Linked DNA regions of Homo sapiens: regions 1 and 3 are each linked to region 2. The links are contacts of gene promoters, found by promoter capture Hi-C in blood cells and fetal thymus (Javierre and others, 2016). All regions are on one chromosome and are shown on one strand. Each heading gives the region's core, a stretch centred on a gene start or on the middle of the fragment in contact. The rest is flanking DNA. Distances are from core to core; before and after follow the strand shown. Region 1 holds the start of EFHC2 (EF-hand domain containing 2). Region 2 holds the start of NDP (norrin cystine knot growth factor NDP). Region 3 has its middle 35 kb from the start of EFHC2.

Region 1 (2,847 bases), core at 229-2,728, 370 kb after region 2:
ACTGACCAGACGTGTAGGGGTCAGAATTCAATGGCGTGAAGCTACAAAGAAAAAACTTGTACTTCAGGGCCAACAACTTAGATACAGACAGTGTTTGGAAACCATAAAGCCAAATACTTCAATCTGCTGCCTGCTTTCTAAAGTTATCAAAGGTTTACACAATTGCCTTGAGTGGCTCCATCTAATTCCCTCCCATCTAATTGGGAATTAGCTTCTCCTGCAGACACAGATGGCTGACCCAAGTGAAGGGTAGTAACCAGTATAAACAAAAGCCTGAATCATTTTCCTGCTGTCGTTTAAATGAGGTGCTATTTATTGGCAAAAGTTCTTTCATGCTCAGGGTTTTTTGTGTTGTGTTGCTTTGTTCTGTACGTTCATCTTCTTTTGAAATGAACCCCTCCAGGACAGGCGCAGTGGCTCAGCCTGTAATCCCAGCACTTTGGGAGACCGAGGCGGGCAGATCACTTGAGGTCAGGAGTCCGAGGCCAGCCTGGCCAACATGGTGAAACCCCATCTTTACTAAAAATACAAAAATTAGCCGGTGTGGTGGCGGGCGCCTGTAATCCCAGCTACTCGGGAGGCTGAGGCAGGAGAATCGCTTGAACCTGGGAGGTGGAGGTTGCAGTGAGCCGAGATCGGGTCACTGCACTCCAGCCTGGGCGACAGAGCGAGACTCCGTCTCAAAAAAAAAAAAAGAAATGAACCCCTCCCAATTATAAATAGAGAAAAAAAAAATCCCTCCAAGTTTGGGTGCCTGTCTCTATAAAGTTTGGGAGTAAACTTTACAGGCTGATAGAACTCTTATCTGCCACCTACCCCTCTTGATAAGTGCCAGATTTCTTCAATTTGATAATTGAAACGGTATCTTTTTTCACACAGGATACTGGGGATAATGATTAGGCTCCTGAGCTGTGGAGACAAGGTTGCTTGAAAGAAACCCAGCTTCACCACTGAGACTGTGTGGTTCTGTGCCTCAGTTTCCTCAATAGTAACTGGGAATAAAAACTACCTAATTCAAAGGGCTGTTGGGACACTGGATGCTGCATAAGGTGATTAAAGCACAGCGCCTGGCACACATTAAACCCCCAATGGTTATCGTCACTATTATTTGTTACCTTTGAGGGTCCTGCCACCTATAAGGACTCTCTCTATATATTTCTAAATTAGGAAAAACATTCAGATGCAGCTGGAGAGATGGGAGAAGCAGCCTATAAAGTTTGGTCCAAGTTGCCACCAACCCAGGGCAGCAGCATGGGGCCTCCAGGAGAGTCTGCGGAGGTGGCCACGCCACGACCCTGCCTGGACCCCAGACTCCAGCCGGGAGCTGTGACCTCGGACGCCCTTCCTACTCACGTTGCGGTTGAAGCTGTTGCCCGGCAGCAGAGGCAGGGCCATGGCGCTCAGTGTCCGAAAATCCAGGGTCCCAGAAGAGAGGGCCCGGCAGGCAGCGGCGCCTCCCGGCCGTGTTGTTTGGCCCCCACGTTGCCTGGAGACGGGAAGCGGCGTCACGGAGGGAGGAGGGGCGGGGGGTTGGCGAGAAGGATCGTGGGGGGCGGGGGACACCTCCGCGGCGCGTACCTCCTCCCCAGCCCCAGTTCCCCTCCACCCGCTTCATCCCCGCACACACTCAGCCAGGTCCTGGTCTCCTGAGGAGTCTTCTCTCTGCACACGCAGTGTGCACACACAAAGATTGACTGTTCCCTGCCCCCGCCGCTTTCTGGTTTAACCCCCTTATAGAACTCAAAGCCTTTCTTGTACTTTCTTGCTTTTCCAATTCTTGTCGCCAACAGTTTTTTGCTATGTGGTTCAAACACACAGCAAAGTACAGAAAGTAATATGACGCCCGTGTGCTCACTGAGATGTTACACAAGTCGATATTTTCCTATGTTGCATAGACATCAGCTTTTATTTTGTAATTAAAACGTTCAAGATGAATCTAAAGCCACATATACCCTGACGAAAACGCGTTGTAATGGTAACCACCGCCTTCAGTTTTTCTTCTGGATATTTTTATATTTGTTGTTTGTTTGTTTGTTTGTTGTTTTAAGACAAGGTCTCACTATGTTGCCCAGGCCGATCTCGAACTCCTGGGCTCAAGCAGCCCTCCCGCCTCTGCCTCCCAAAGTGCTGGGATTACAGGTATGAGCCACCGTGTCCGGCCCATTTTTGTATTTGAACTAAACGTTTGTAAGGCCCAATCAGGGGTGGCCGGGGCGGAGTCAGGTGTCACAAATCGCAACCCCTGTCACTCCATCGTTCACCCCAAGATAGCCGGGCCAGGAACCTCCTCTCCCGACACCTACGTCTAATCCCTCCCTGAAGCCCTAAAGGTTGGACTCGATGCTCTCTCTCAGTCACCACCTCGTCTATTTCAGCTGCGATCCCATTGTTTCTTGCCTGGTTTTCTTCTTTAAAAAGAAAAACAAACACACACAAAAAACTAACTGATCTTGCCTCCAGAGCCGTCGTTTTTATAATTCATGGTGCAGCTGTTACTCTTCTGCTTCAATAATCTAGCCTTCCCGCCGCCTTCAGAAGGTGGTGAAACTCCTTATAGCCTGGTCTGAGGAGCTTTTGTCAGAGGGCACCTACCAATGCCCTCCATCCCTTTCTTTGCCCCCTCCTCCATCTACTCCAGCTCTGAGAAACCACTGGCAGTTTCTAAATCAGGCTCTGCGGTTTCTCCTCTTGGGGCTTTTGCAAATAACACTATCGTCTAGAAACACCCTTCCTTCCTATCTTTCACATAAGTAACCCCTTCTTGTCTTTCAGGACTTGAGGCCAGCGTGGGAGTGGGGCATAGAAGGTATTGCCATTTCTTCAATATATTCTTTCACCTTCTTCCTG
Region 2 (2,700 bases), core at 195-2,694:
AGCAGATATTTGCATCTGGTTTAAACGCTCAGTTGAGAAGCATTGTGCCGTCCCCGCTGTATTTGGTTGACACCCACAGCAACTCCCCATTTCAGTCATCTCTCTGTTTTCAAATGCACCTGGTATTTAATCTTATGTGTTGGGGTAATTTGCCAATGCCAGCTCCTTGTAATTAAAATACACTAATATTAGAAATGAAAAGAGACATGTTTCACAGCAGCCATATCTGTTATTAATGAGTTACAAAGAACTGTACAAGGGACTCCCATCTTGCCAAATAGCTTCCTTTCCCGCACCTGAATCTCAGTAAAGATGGGAGTCTGCCTCTCATGGAGGCTTATCTGGGTTTGTCTATTACAATGAGCCTCAGTTACTGGGCGTTCTGAGTCATTAACATTCTGTACACAATCAAACTTCCCGTCCCCCAAGAAAGAGTTATGCCCAGGCCTCCTACAGCTCAATTGTTCATTTAAAGAGAGAACTTGTATTCCAAAGTTTGAAAGAAACCTCGGAATATCCCGCAGGTAGGAGTCATTCCTACAGGTCCTGGTCTCTGTGCTGGTGGGAGCATCCTTTCCCGGTCACTCCTTGAACATCATGCTGCAGGGACGAGCTGATGACTAAAAATAACCCCCTGCAATAAGTCCAAGGCAAACAGCATGCATTTCCTCGGACTTTTTGCCCAATCAAAATCATACAGTAAATCCATCCTCATCTCCTCCCGGTGCTCCCCAATGCATCTATGGAAGCGAAGACCTGCACGCTGAAAGAAGAGTGCAAGGGAGCAGGATTCCTGCAAAGCGTGACACAGAAAGCTAGAAATAAATGTTGCCTATTGTTTGAAGTCATTCTGAGCACTCCGGCAGAGCCCTGGCAGGAGATCAGCAGCATACATAAGTAGTAATAAAAGTAAACAGTGCGCTTTTAAACTCGCAGTCTTGCCTGCGTTAATAGTGCCCCCATTGTAAGTGGGATGAGGGTGCTGGGGAAGATACTGGGCTCCATGAATCCATGTTGGCAAGTTGCTGCTTCGCAGCCCCCTTTCACGGGGTCAACTATAAGAACCATCACAAAGTTACATCTAACTACGCAGAGAGTTTGAAAAGAAAAATCTCTTTAAGTCAAACCAAAAGATATTTTCAAGCTTTTCTAGGAGGCTCCCTGCTCTGTCACAGACTTCAAAGACCCGTTCATTTAAGAAACACAATGCTAGCATGCTACAGATTAATGCAAATTAAAGTAATGCAAATTTAAGTGGTATTTAAAGGTTGTCTCTTTGTCTGAGAGGAGGATGAAATGCTCGGTTTGGAAAGAAGCGATTTCCTAGGCAAGCCGGCAGCGCTTGTTTTCCTGCTTACCTTAGGGGAACGCAGGGCTCCTTTCTTCTCAGACTTTTCTGAGAGCTAGAAAGAGGTCCTGTTACTTCCAAATGCTTTTGTTCTTCTGTCCCTCTGTCACATGGCTTGCCTTTTATATTTGCAACACACAAAAGTTAGGACTGTTGTTTAAGCGACACAGGGAGAGAGAGAGAGGGAGAGAGAGAGGGAGAGAGAGAGAGGGAGAGAGAGAGAGAGAATGTCAAATGGAAAAGTGCCATTGCAGTCATATATCAATCAGGCGTGCGGCCGCAGCAGCGCACTAGCAAATGGGAATGCCACGGAAATGTGAGGCGCTCGTTATCGGGGACTCAGCCTCTGCCCACCGCTCGGCTCCCTTCCACGGAGCATCTTACGATGGGAACAGCGTAGCAGAACAAGGGCGAGGAAGTTTCTTTCTTTCTTTCTTTTTTAATGGTATTATGGAACTAATAAGAGGCCAAATGAATATTCTGAATTTAATTCTTTTTCAAGCATGTGGCTGCCATAAAGATGTGCCGTCCGCAATAGAGACGTATAGTTTTGGAAATACAAAGGCAGTGTGGCATTCTGTTGAACGATTCGGCAGCTGACTGTGATGAAGTTGAAATTTTAAGTAAGAGAGGGGAAAGATGGGAACCAGAAATTTTTTTCTCAGGCGATGCTGTTAAAGCAAGTGCAAAACGCTGCCCTATTTTATCACGATGTGTGTGGGTGGTGAGAGTTCTTTTTTTCCGGGTTGTTCATCCATTAAATGATTTTTAGCAGCATATACATGATTAAATTCACAATGGCACTTTAATAAGCCCCTTCATCTGCATCATTTAGAATAAAACTTTAGGTCTGATTTAGAAACAATGAGAACGTGTATTCCTTGACTCCTTGAGCTATATGAAGGAGAAACTAATAGATAAAGCTAACCCATTACACAACAACTAGTAGAAAAGTGACAAAGGTAACTATGTGTGTGGGTTAAATACCTGCAGCTGAATCATGCTGTGTTATGAGCTGTGGGACTACAAAGGCAAATATTTCATAATTCTTGCCCTTTGAAAGCTTAAAATTAACACAGAAAACCGTCAGGGATTTTGGAGGAAAATACAAAGAACATTTAATAATTATTTTATGTCAGGTAAATCAGACCCAGAATAATTTGTTTTATTAATACTACTGATGAAGAATTAAACTGAGAATTTAAAATATATATATTTCGTGGAAAAAATAATACATTATAAAACTCAAAAAGAAATTTTTCTTGGGAGCTTCATGTAATTGTTGATGCTGAAACTGTCTTGTTCAACTCTGTATCAAACTATTTGTTATTCATTAATAAATTTACATTCAC
Region 3 (2,746 bases), core at 92-2,591, 410 kb after region 2:
TCTTTTCTTTATAAATTACCCAGGCTCAGGTATTCCTTTATACCTACGCAAGAACAGACTAACACAATGGCTGAGTAGAGATTTGCCAGGTGGGAAAGAGAAAAAAAGAAATCTCAGACATTCCTCTTTTTTAGAAAGTCTGGCAGGTGACTTGACAGGGAAACAGAATATTCCCAAAAGGTGGCAAGTGCCTATGGATTTTTTCATCAAGTCAGTTACAATATTCTAATACTTTAAGTTTAGACAGAAATGGCTGGCTTATTTGGGGGGAAATTTTAACTTCTAGCTATATTTTGTTTTGTAGGACTATGTATGTAACAATGAAATTTGTTTTTAAACGCCGGCTCTTCTGTGACTGGATATTTGCAGCACATCCAAGAGGAAAATATGCTAGGAGAGGGTATGAGAGTATTAAATAAGAATAATTTTCAAGTAAGGTTGTAAAAGCATCCAAACTGCTGTTGGAGGAGTGGGGGACCCCAAAGACTATCCTCAGTTTCCATAATTTGCTAGGAGGACTTACAGGACTCAGCATACCGTTATACTCATGGTGCGGATATATCACAGCCAAAAGACCCAAAGCAAAATCAGCAAAAGCAAAAGGCACATGGGGGTGAAGTCTGGAGGAAACCAGGAGCAAGCTTCCAAGAATCTTCACCCAGTGGAGTCACAAGGGATGTACTTGATTTCCCCAGCAATGAGTTCTGAAATGTCTACCAGGGAAGCTTATTAGAAATTCAGCACCCAGGGCTTTTCCTGGGGGGCTGGTCATGGAAGTACCCCTTGCCTGGCAGGTACCCAAATTCCAGACTCCCAGAAGGAAAGCAGATAGATGTTCAGCATAAACCGCATTGCTTGCATGAAGTTTAGGCACAGTGAGCCACTCTTACCAATTCTAGAAATGGTGGGAACCCTCCTGAAATTCAAGTTCTGGGATACCAGCTAAGAGCCAACCTTGTGAGCAAGCCTTTCTAAGGATAAGCAGTTAGGACTCTATGTTAACTCTTTACTGCACTGAGGTAACAGTTTATCTCATGGGTGCTTTTTTTTCTCTCCTCGTGGCTTGTGTCATTATTCCCATCTCTTAAGATCTAAAGCAAAGGCCTTTTAGTAAAATGAATCAACATATATTTGGGCCTTGAGGGTGTGTGTGTGTGTGTGTGTGTGTGAGAGAGAGAGAGAGAGAGAGAGAGAGAAAGAAGGATCGGAAACGGTGTAATCCCAGCACTTTGGGAGGCCAAGGTGGGTGGATCATTTGAGGTCAGGAGTTCGAGACCACCCTCGCCAACATGGTGAAACCCCATCTCTACTAAAAATATAAAGGAAAAAATTAGCCAGGTGTGATGGCGGGTGCCTGTAATCCCAGCTACTTGGGAGGCTGAGGCAGGAGAAGCGACTGATCCTGGGAGGTGAAGGTTGCAGTGAGGTGAGATCACGCCACCACACTCCAGCCTGGGTGACAGAGCAAGACTCCATCTCAAAAAAAAAAAAAAAAAAAAAGGGAGAGAGAGAGTGAGTGAGTGAATACTTAAAATAGTCATCATAATTGAAACAGCCTAAGCATTTTGGGTTGCAGATGTCTGTCTGAAGTCTTTCCTTTATGGCTAATACATTTTGAAGCCCTTACCCAGATGAGTAATTACAAGAAAGTGCAGTGGCCCACTGTTTCTGTTTTAAAATCATTCCCCACCCATTAGAATTTGCTTCAGCTGCTTTTAATATCAATTTTTATATGCAGGTACTTAGTAAAATAACAAAAATAAAAATACACCTCTGGGCAACATTTCTTCTTCACTTCAGTCACTTTTTTTTTTTAAGTCCACACCTCATCTGTTGTGTGTGGAATTGCAACTACATTTTTAGTACTGAGTTTGCGTATGGGTCTGATTTTTACCTCTTTTTTTCTTTGCTGTGTAGTTGATGTGTCTGTAACATACAATCCTATATAAAGCAAAGTCAAAGCTTCCAAGGCAAAGAAATATTTGAAATCAATCATAATCACATCTTATTCAAATAAGGCTCTTACTTCCTGAGAATTCTTCTATATCATCTGGTGCCCAAATCTTGCAGATCAATGGCCTTCAACTTTTACTCCTGGGAGATTATTTCAAATAATGACTCTCTTGCACATGCTCTTCTTCAAATCCTTATCTTCCCCAAATTTATTTAAATTGACTATGTATTCATTTTTTATTTATTCGTGGACTAAACATTTATTTAATGTCTATCATATGCCTTCTGGGTATTGGAGATACAAATATTAAAGAAAACAAAGTCACTGTGCTCAAGGAGTTAAAAGTCTAATAGGACAATTAAACAGGTTAAAAAGGCTGGGCACAGTGGCTCACACCTGTAATCCCAGCACTTTGGGAGGCCGAGGTGGGTGGATCACCTGAGGTCAGGAGTTCGAGACCAGCCTGGCCAACATGGTGAAACCCTGTCTCTACTAAAAATATAAAAAAATTAGCTGGGAGTGGCTGCGAGAGCCTGTAATCCCAGCTACTCAGGAGGCTGAAGCAGGAGTATGGCTTGAACCCAGGAGGCAGAGGTTGCAATGAGCCAAGATCGCACCATTAGACTCCAGCCTGGGCGACAGAGTGAGACTCCGTCTCAAAACAAAACAAAACAACAACAACAACAAAATAAAAATAAAACAGGTTAAAAAAACACAAATGTCTAAAGCACCAGGTATACAGGACATGGAGTAAGTAGAGGAGATAGAGTTTAAGTGGATCAGAAAAGGTTT

Evidence for each region. Contacts are between HindIII fragments. The CHiCAGO score rates a contact against its expected background, and 5 or more counts as called.
Region 1: the fragment with the promoter of EFHC2 here is called in contact with the fragment with the promoter of NDP in region 2 in 12 of 17 cell types (non-activated CD4 T cells, total CD4 T cells, total CD8 T cells and 9 more); the score reaches 13.7 in non-activated CD4 T cells.
Region 3: a fragment that was not itself captured here is called in contact with the fragment with the promoter of NDP in region 2 in 1 of 17 cell types (non-activated CD4 T cells); the score reaches 5.0 in non-activated CD4 T cells.

The regions. Positions count from the first base shown.
Region 1 is chrX:44,342,194-44,345,040 of GRCh38, forward strand. EFHC2 (EF-hand domain containing 2) reads right to left here and starts at 1,479. Exons shown (of 15, transcript NM_025184.4): 1 at 1,354-1,479. The coding sequence starts at 1,395. The HindIII fragment of the contact is 28,191 bases long and covers 1-2,847 here.
Region 2 is chrX:43,971,946-43,974,645 of GRCh38, forward strand. NDP (norrin cystine knot growth factor NDP) reads right to left here and starts at 1,445. Exons shown (of 3, transcript NM_000266.4): 1 at 1,359-1,445. The HindIII fragment of the contact is 1,267 bases long and covers 1,143-2,409 here.
Region 3 is chrX:44,377,746-44,380,491 of GRCh38, forward strand. No RefSeq gene overlaps it. Among named protein-coding and RNA genes, the nearest start is that of EFHC2, 35 kb to the left of the region's middle. The HindIII fragment of the contact is 1,237 bases long and covers 724-1,960 here.